Regions from separate parts of the Homo sapiens genome. Here all the other regions are linked to region 2. Evidence: promoter capture Hi-C in human tissues and cell types (Jung and others, 2019). All regions are on one chromosome and are shown on one strand. The core of a region is centred on a gene start or on the middle of the fragment in contact, and the rest is flanking DNA. Distances in the headings are between cores, read along the strand shown. Region 1 holds the start of HPGD (15-hydroxyprostaglandin dehydrogenase). Region 2 holds the start of SAP30 (Sin3A associated protein 30). Region 3 overlaps HPGD (15-hydroxyprostaglandin dehydrogenase).

Evidence for each region. The method cuts DNA at HindIII sites, captures the fragments that hold promoters and counts their contacts. A contact is called where the count stands out against the background at its distance.
Region 1: the fragment with the promoter of HPGD here is called in contact with the fragment with the promoter of SAP30 in region 2 in 1 of the 25 tissues and cell types used here (mesenchymal stem cells).
Region 3: a fragment that was not itself captured here is called in contact with the fragment with the promoter of SAP30 in region 2 in 1 of the 25 tissues and cell types used here (mesendoderm cells).

What each region holds. Positions count from the first base shown.
Region 1 is chr4:174,521,238-174,523,737 of GRCh38, forward strand. HPGD (15-hydroxyprostaglandin dehydrogenase) reads right to left here and starts at 1,251. Exons shown (of 7, transcript NM_000860.6): 1 at 1,122-1,251; 2 at 707-830. The coding sequence starts at 1,214. It overlaps LOC105377548 (a long non-coding RNA gene), which reads left to right and starts at 1,376. Exons shown (of 7, transcript XR_007058492.1): 1 at 1,376-1,892; 2 at 2,148-2,184. The HindIII fragment of the contact is 5,489 bases long and covers 1-2,500 here.
Region 2 is chr4:173,369,535-173,372,234 of GRCh38, forward strand. It overlaps SAP30 (Sin3A associated protein 30), which reads left to right and starts at 1,420. Exons shown (of 4, transcript NM_003864.4): 1 at 1,420-1,963. The coding sequence starts at 1,649. It overlaps SAP30-DT (SAP30 divergent transcript), which reads right to left and starts at 1,164. Exons shown (of 4, transcript NR_183973.1): 1 at 758-1,164; 2 at 1-76. RefSeq lists enhancers at 641-880, 1,964-2,527, 2,231-2,530 and silencers at 1,281-1,450, 1,731-2,110. The HindIII fragment of the contact is 15,433 bases long and covers 1-2,700 here.
Region 3 is chr4:174,492,044-174,494,743 of GRCh38, forward strand. HPGD (15-hydroxyprostaglandin dehydrogenase) reads right to left here. Exons shown (of 7, transcript NM_000860.6): 6 at 1,108-1,271; 7 at 1-51. Among named protein-coding and RNA genes, the nearest start is that of HPGD, 29 kb to the right of the region's middle. The HindIII fragment of the contact is 3,010 bases long and covers 1-2,700 here.

The DNA.
Region 1 (2,500 bases), core at 1-2,500, 1.2 Mb after region 2:
AACAGCTTTATAATCAAAGCTGTTTATTGTGTATGCCAATATTGTCCCTGATACTTCACAAGTAGATTGGTCTATTTTAAGTGAGTAGCCGGAAACAGGAAAGCATTGAGGAAAGGCTGATAGAGATGTTTCTACTACAATTCTAACATTGTATACTTTATTATGATTACTATTATTATTATTTTAAAGTACTGTCTCATTGGGGAAAAAGCCGGAGAAAACATATGGTCAAAAGCATCTAGCACTTCTGTGATGATGCTCCTTGAACTTGTATTCTGATATGTTTAAACGAAAAACACTGCCACATTTGATTGTCATTGGACTCCAGCTTTCTGGGAGAAGTTGTTTGTCAACAGTACCTTACTTAACCTACTTTAATTTTCCAAGTTTTGTCTGCAATTTCAATCATTTAATAATTACTGCAGCAGCACTGTCTTTGAATACATAAAGGAATTTTGATTACATTAATGCTGCCAAATGACTACAATAAAAGGATTTCTCCAGCAGTCTTGCCTTTCTTTCGGTTTTACAGCTATTGGGCTGTCAGAAGGAAACGTATCAGTCCAAACTGTCTTTTGGAGCTTCAAGGTAGCTGCTCTCGAGGAGGCAGCGGAGGCGGCACCCAGGGCCCCCTGGCCGGGCTGCCTTCAGGTTGTTGCTTGTTGAGAGCACGTTCCCAGTTGACAGATTGATTCCCCTGTCTTACCTCTCAGTTGTTGCTGGTCAGCCACATCGCACTGGATGAACAGAGTCTTCTGAGGTTCAAACTGCTCATCCAGGGCAGCTTTACACTGTACACCTGCTTCAAGATTCCAATCCACCAGCGCTACCTATAGACAAGAGGAGAGGAATCGCGGGCCTGCGCAGCTCACGAAATAGACGGACAAACAATAAACACACAAGAGGCTCCCCTCCTGGACCTGAAATTTGGCAATTAGGTTTGGGTTCCCTCCCAGCCACTTCTGAGGTGTGCTCACAGCCTCAGCTTCAGCAAATTTTGGAAGTGGCAAAGTGGGCACGCCGGGCGCGGCCTCCCTGTCTCCGCCAGTGCACCTCGGGCGGCGGGGCGAGTCTCGGAGTGTGTGGGCAGAGAAATTTCCGCGGCTGGGCGCCGGGCTTACCTTGGCGCCCTTAAGCAGCAGCGCCTCTGCAAAGGCTCTGCCTATGCCCTGAGCCGCGCCGGTCACCAGCGCCACTTTGCCGTTCACGTGCATGGTGCAGCCACTGCTGGGGCGGGCGGTGGGCGAGCTCCGCGTCTCCGCGCGGCCGCGGCTTTTATGCCCCCCTGCGCGCGCGCGCGTGCAGCCCGGCGGGGCGCTCCCCTGCCAGTGGGCGGGGAGGAAACTGTCAAGCCAGCGCCCGCCGGGGAACCCACGACTGTGTCACCTGCCCCCTGAGCGTTCTGGAGCGCCAAGCTTCGCGATCTTTGCCTTCCGGACTCGCAGACCGGCTCAAAGCCTCCCCTCAGCCTCTGGCTCCGTGATTGGCAGGCAGCTGACAGAAGAAAAGTTAAAAGGTTATTTCTGAAGAAGAGTTTCCTTCAGTGCCCTAAAGACCAACTGGATAGAAGGAGAGCGGAGCAGAGGCTTGGAAGCTTGGATCCCTCCTCCTGCACTCCCTCCCGGCCCCGACTCCGGAACAAAACAAGCAAACAATAAAGCAAACTTGTTGCTCTTTTGTCTCAAAGTTTTGTGTGAGTTCCCATCTCGTAATCAGTGGGGTTGAGGGTGACGGGGAGCAGAAGTAACTAATATCATTGTGTTTTCTTAGTTACATTTTGGACAAATTTTTACGGATACTGGAGATGAGAAGTGGACTCTGCTCTGTCCTGAAAACCTGGAATCATAACATTTCATGGCTAGGACTAGAGTGTCCTTGGCGCTGTGTTTCTGGTCAGTGTCAATTGTGTGTCATATTGAGATGCCCCCACAAAAACTGTCATCATCAACAGGCGCTCCAGAGCCGCTGGTAGCCTACCAAATTGTTGGCTCAATGGAATGCTTACTTGTTGAAATACACCAACTTTGGAAGCTCTGAGTCAAGTTTGGGACAGAGGTTCCTTGCTCTCCAGGAACTCCAGGGCTAGCTGTATGCGGACTTGCATAAATAACAAGGGCTATTCCACTGACTTTGTCTCTTTTTCTCAGGTTGTCAGCGGCAGGCTGCAATTTTAATTCTGTAAACGTAAGTGGTTGGCTTTTTTTTTTTTTTTTTTTTTTTAATCTTGAGACAAGATCTCGCTCTGTCTGTTTGGCTAGAATGCAGTGGCATAATCCCAGCTCGCTGCAACCTCAATCTCCAGGGCTCAAGCGACCCTCCCACCTTGGACTCCCAAAGAGTGCTAAGATTACAGGCATGAGCCACTATGCCCAGCTGGCATTTATTTTCTTAAAGAAAAAAAAAATCTAAATACTTGGGGGAAATGGGAGTTGAGCAAAAGACTGACACTAACAGCAGAATGAATCATTTTTATATCTTCTTTACCTTCTTTACTGGGAAA
Region 2 (2,700 bases), core at 170-2,669:
AATCGCTTGAACTCGAGAGGCGGAGGTTGCAGGATCGCGCCACTGCACTGCACTCCATCCTGGGCGACAGAGCAAACTGTCTCAAAAGAAAAAAAAATCATTTATCACTAAATTTACTCACCAAAAGAACTTGCAAAAAAAAAACCCAAAACCCTACTGCCTAAAATATATTTTAAAACGTATTTGTGTTTAAGCAGCATATATCTTTTGATAAATAATGACGCATGGTAGCTAACTAGTAAAGATGCAGCTTTCATATTAGCCACGCCCATCCCTCTCTCCGCCCTCCACAAGCACGTCCCCGCAAGCGCGCAGGAACATACACGCGTACGCGCGCACACACACGTACACACGCGCGCGCCCGCGAACACATACATACAAGCAGGCGCGCCCAAACGCCGGCAGCACACAGGCGCGCACGCGCTTTTCAGGACTCAGGAAATGCGCTTTCTGCTCCCCGCGCCCGGTAGAGCTAATGCAGGGAAGTTTCTGGGAACATTCGACCAGCGTTTGTATTGGTGAGGTTCCAAGTTTCCTTTAAAATGATATGACTCCGCCCTTCTCCAAAACCGTTTGAGGAGAAATGGAAAAGGTTGGGCGTGGAGGTGAAAAGGAGCCCTGTTGTCAACTGGTCCGTACTCCACCTCAGGAGGCGGCCAACTTGGTGCGCCCAAGAATAAAAACATTTCCCTTGTAAGAACATGCAAGTGTTTAGAAACGCCCCCCCACCCCCCCGCAAGGCGTTTGTGAGGGGGACCTGTCACAGTTGAGAAGTCAGGATGGGCGTTTTCCTCCCAGGAGGTGCCCTATTAATTTGCGGCCTCGATAGTTGGTCAAGCCGGGATGTTAGCTGCGGAACCTCCAGGACCGAAGAGCGCCAATTCTCCTGAGTTCTCCTTGGTTTGGGTTTCCCACAAAAGAGTGGTCACACCAAAAACTCTGTCTCCACAAATGCGAAACGGGCTCGAAACTTTTTTTTCCCCACACGATCACTTCCCACACCACTCCCATCCCTTTATGTTTCGCCTCAGGAGTCGAGGAACTTCTCTGAAAACCAATTCTACGATATTCCAGCAGCTAAACACAGCCCGAATTCCCTAGAAACAGAGAGAGCGAGAGAAAACACTGTAAACCCCAATCACACGCTCCTGTTTTCCCGGTACTGAAAAAAAAAAAAAAAAAAAAAAGTGGGTCCGTGGCCGCGCTATGCATGCTAGGATTAGTAGTTCCTCCGTCCCTCATGGCGCGGGGTCAGGGCGGAGCTCAGGTTGACTCTGCAGCAGAGAACTACAATTCCCATGGGGCCGCGCGGCAGAAAGAAAGGGGCGGGACGGGAGGGGGCGCGTCGCGCTTGCGCAGGTCCCGGGGCCGGAGGGAGGCGGAGGCGTAGCGGTCCAACTGCTGAAGTCCCCATGTGACAGTGAGCGGGGTCCCCGCTCCAGGAGACGCTCGAGTCTGCGTCCCGGCCCTCAGCACTGTCCACTGTTTCGGTGCCAGCAGAGACCAGCAGGCCCGGGACAGTTGGTGTTTGGCCGTGCCGCTGTCTAACTTGGTGTGCAGAGTGAATTGCCGCTGCCGGAGCGGAGAGAGGCGGAGCGGCCAGGAGAGAGGGGATTTCTGTCAGCGCCGGCCTCGGGAGCTCGGAGACATGAACGGCTTCACGCCTGACGAGATGAGCCGCGGCGGGGATGCGGCCGCCGCAGTGGCCGCAGTGGTCGCTGCCGCGGCCGCCGCCGCCTCGGCGGGGAACGGGACCGGCGCGGGCACCGGGGCTGAGGTGCCGGGCGCGGGGGCGGTCTCAGCGGCTGGGCCCCCGGGGGCGGCCGGGCCGGGCCCCGGGCAACTGTGCTGCCTGCGGGAGGATGGTGAGCGGTGCGGCCGGGCGGCAGGCAACGCCAGCTTCAGCAAGAGGATCCAGAAGAGCATCTCCCAGAAGAAGGTGAAGATCGAGCTGGATAAGAGCGTAAGTAAACCGCGGGACCGCCCTGCCCTCCCGCCCCTCGGTGGGGCCCCAGGAGCCGGGCAAAGGCACGGGTTGTCGGCGGGGTCCCCCAGACAACCGCACTGGCTGCAGTGCGGTCTCGTGGAGTCTGTGTTTGGAAGCAAATAACAAAGTCGCTGCAACTCCTACCGCCACCCCAACACACACACCACACACAGGCTGTCGTTCCCCTCTTCTTTCCCACCCTGGCCCCCAACCTCCCGCTGCCTGCGTCTCTCCCGCGCAGTCTTCCCTCTTCCTTCTCCTCTGCGACCGGGACACGAAACAAAGGGGACCGGCGCACTGAGGGCCCAGAGTAGTTTTCTTGCAGCCCGGCAGCTCTTCTGGAATGGAGGCGCCTTTGTTTTGCTGCCCAAGCTGGTGTTTGGCCCCAGGCGGTACTAAATCCCGTCGTCTAGGAGAAAGCGGAGGACCTTCACGAACAAGGAAGATCCTGTTCTTTTCTGTGTTCCGTCTCCTCCGGAGCGGAGTGAGAGGGAAGCCGAGCTCACCCGCCGCCTGGCAGTGAGCCGGGGTTGTAAACGGCGTTTGCGCTGTCAGCTCCGAGGGCAGCTACTCCGATGGTGGGGAGCACGTAGCCTCTGCGGTTTTGCCATCCCCTTGGCAGCCATCAGGATTTTTTGCACGTCTTTTCGTTTGACCATCTATGAGGTTTTTAGAAACAGCCGTTGCTACTTTTGGGAGATCTGGCTAGCGGT
Region 3 (2,700 bases), core at 1-2,500, 1.1 Mb after region 2:
AAAGCATCATCTTCAATGAGTGTTATCAATCCATTGGCAATCAATGGTGGGCTAAAAATAAAGAAAACAGTATTTTGAAACGAAAGAATGAGGCATATTACCACTTCATTTTAAGTTATTTTCTGAAGAATCTATTAAGTTGAACATGTTATAGGGAAATGTGTGTCATTAAACTATTGCTACTTCCAATTTTTATTTAATTCCATATTAGATATCTAGATTAGATATCTTATTTATCTAATTTATTCAATTAGATTTCTTTCAATTGGATATTAACTAAATTATTTGATAAATTTAGCTGTAACCTTCCATCATTTTGGCAGGAGGAATTTATACTCATTATTTTCACTGAGCAAATGATCATTTTCTCATCTTTATCGTATCAGTAGATCTTAGACTTACCAGATATAGATGTTATTAGTGTAGAAATATGATTGGTAACAGCTAGCATTTACTGAAAATTTTATTTTTTACCAGTTACCATTTTAAGTACCTTGTATGTATCATTTTATTTAAGTTTTTCAAAGTCCCTAAGTCTGTTGTATTATCTCTATTTTATATGTGAGAAAATTGAAGCATCTAGAGGTATGATGGGTAAGTTCATGGTTAGTGGTAGAGCCAAGATTTGATCTCAGGTCTGATTCCTTCAACATGATAACTATGATTCATGAAATCCTCAGTTGCTTGAATTCAGACATAATTCACTGAGAAAGTATGTGTCCATGTATGTGTGTGTATCAACTATTTCTTATAAAAGTGGTTGAAGTCATGGAAACTTGCAATATTTCACAGACTATATTTGAATATTGCTTGGAATTTAGGCAGAGAAGGTATCATTGCCTTCAAAGGTGACTAAATATCAACTTTATGACTGATGGTAGTAATGAAGCATTTTACATATTTCAAAGTAACATTCATAATGTATAAACTTACATTCTATTTATAAACCCAGAAAAATATATTTTCTCCCAGAGAGTTTGCCAAACCAAAAGTTTGAAGCTTGTGTTCATTTCTCAACTGTATAAGCTTATTTCTTCCCTTTTTATAGCTTATCTAAATAATGCTTTGCTTCATCATTTAAAAGAAAATAGACATAGTTTTACTTACTCCAAAATTCCATAGTATTTAATCATATCCTTGATATGATCCTTATATTCTATATATTGTCCCATGTTTTCTTCTTTTTCAATTGATTCAAGGATGGCTGTGTTAACAAAGCCTGGACAAATGGCATTCAGTCTCACACCACTGTTCATAAGATTAGCAGCCAACTGCCAATTAGAAGGTTGTAGGTTTCAGCAGTTTCATAAACATATAGCACAGGACAAACTGATCATTAAAGCATCTTACAATTTTCTGATGTAAAAAATACTAATTAGATATCCTCCCAGCTATGTAACAATGACTGGTAAATAGATAGTAAAATAACACATACATAAAGTATTGTATTAATTCCTGAAAATCTCACCTAATTAATTTTTTTTAAAAATCAGTATTACTGGACAACTCCTGGAAACAATTATGTAAGCTTCTCTTATCTACTGAACTCTGCAGGAGCCTGAAGCTAAGTAGCTGAGACTTAGAATCGATATCCCAAGTGTTATTTCAAATATGGTGGTTGTATAACAAATAATACTTAATTAAAAAGACTTTTAGTGAAAATGTTTAGAACTTTGATTCTAAAGACACTCTTAATAATCTGTCCTATCTGGAAGACAATTTAAGTATTTTCAGACTAACATTATTTGGCTTAATTTACAAACTATTGATTTTATTTGCAATTATTAAAAAATTAGTCAATTCTCATTATTCATGGATTACATATAAACAAATTTGTTAAATTTGCTTGCTAAAATTTACTTGTAACCCTGGAAATCAATACTTGTGGAGCATTTGTAGTTATTTGTGGACATGCACAGGGCAGTGAGAAATTTGAGTCACCGATGTGCATGTTCCTGCTGAGGTCAAGTAAGACTATACTCTGTCGTGCCATGTTTTTCTAATTTTGTGCTTTTTTATTGGTGATTCTGCTGTTTAAAATGGCTGCCAAACCCACTGCAGAAGTGCTGTGTAGTGTTCCTTAGTGTAAGAAGACTGATGTCCTGTACAGAAAATATTTGTGTTAGATAAATTTTGATCAGGCATGAGTAATAAGTGCTTTAGTAATGAGTTCAATGTTCATACAACCTATGATAAATAAGGTTCTTTAAACAGGAATACACATAAAATAAGGTTATGTATTGACTGGTTGATTGGAGTTTTGTGACCAGAGGCTTTCAGGAACTTAACCCTCTATTTCCCCTAAAAGCAATGGTTCAGTAGTCACTAATGTAGTGTTTGTAAGTGACTTCATGGAACATAACCACCATGCATACTGAGAATTGACTGTAGAAGTTTCCAGTCTTGTAATTTTAAATATAAAATTTCTGGTCTTTCAGGTTTACTTTGCTTTGTAAGAGAGCTTTATGTGTTTATAAGAAGTCTGTCTGAAGATTATGTCTTTGCAAATTAAGCAATAATTTCCAATCAATTTAAGAGTGTGAGAACTACTTATCTTCCATTTTGACTGAACAGTTAACATTTGTGCATCTGTTTTTTCTGTCTCCTACTAATTCTTTGATTACTAATATTTTTCTCTTCATCTCTCTAGCTGCTCTCTTTGTCTCACCTAGATGAACCACCCAGAGACCCCCTACAACT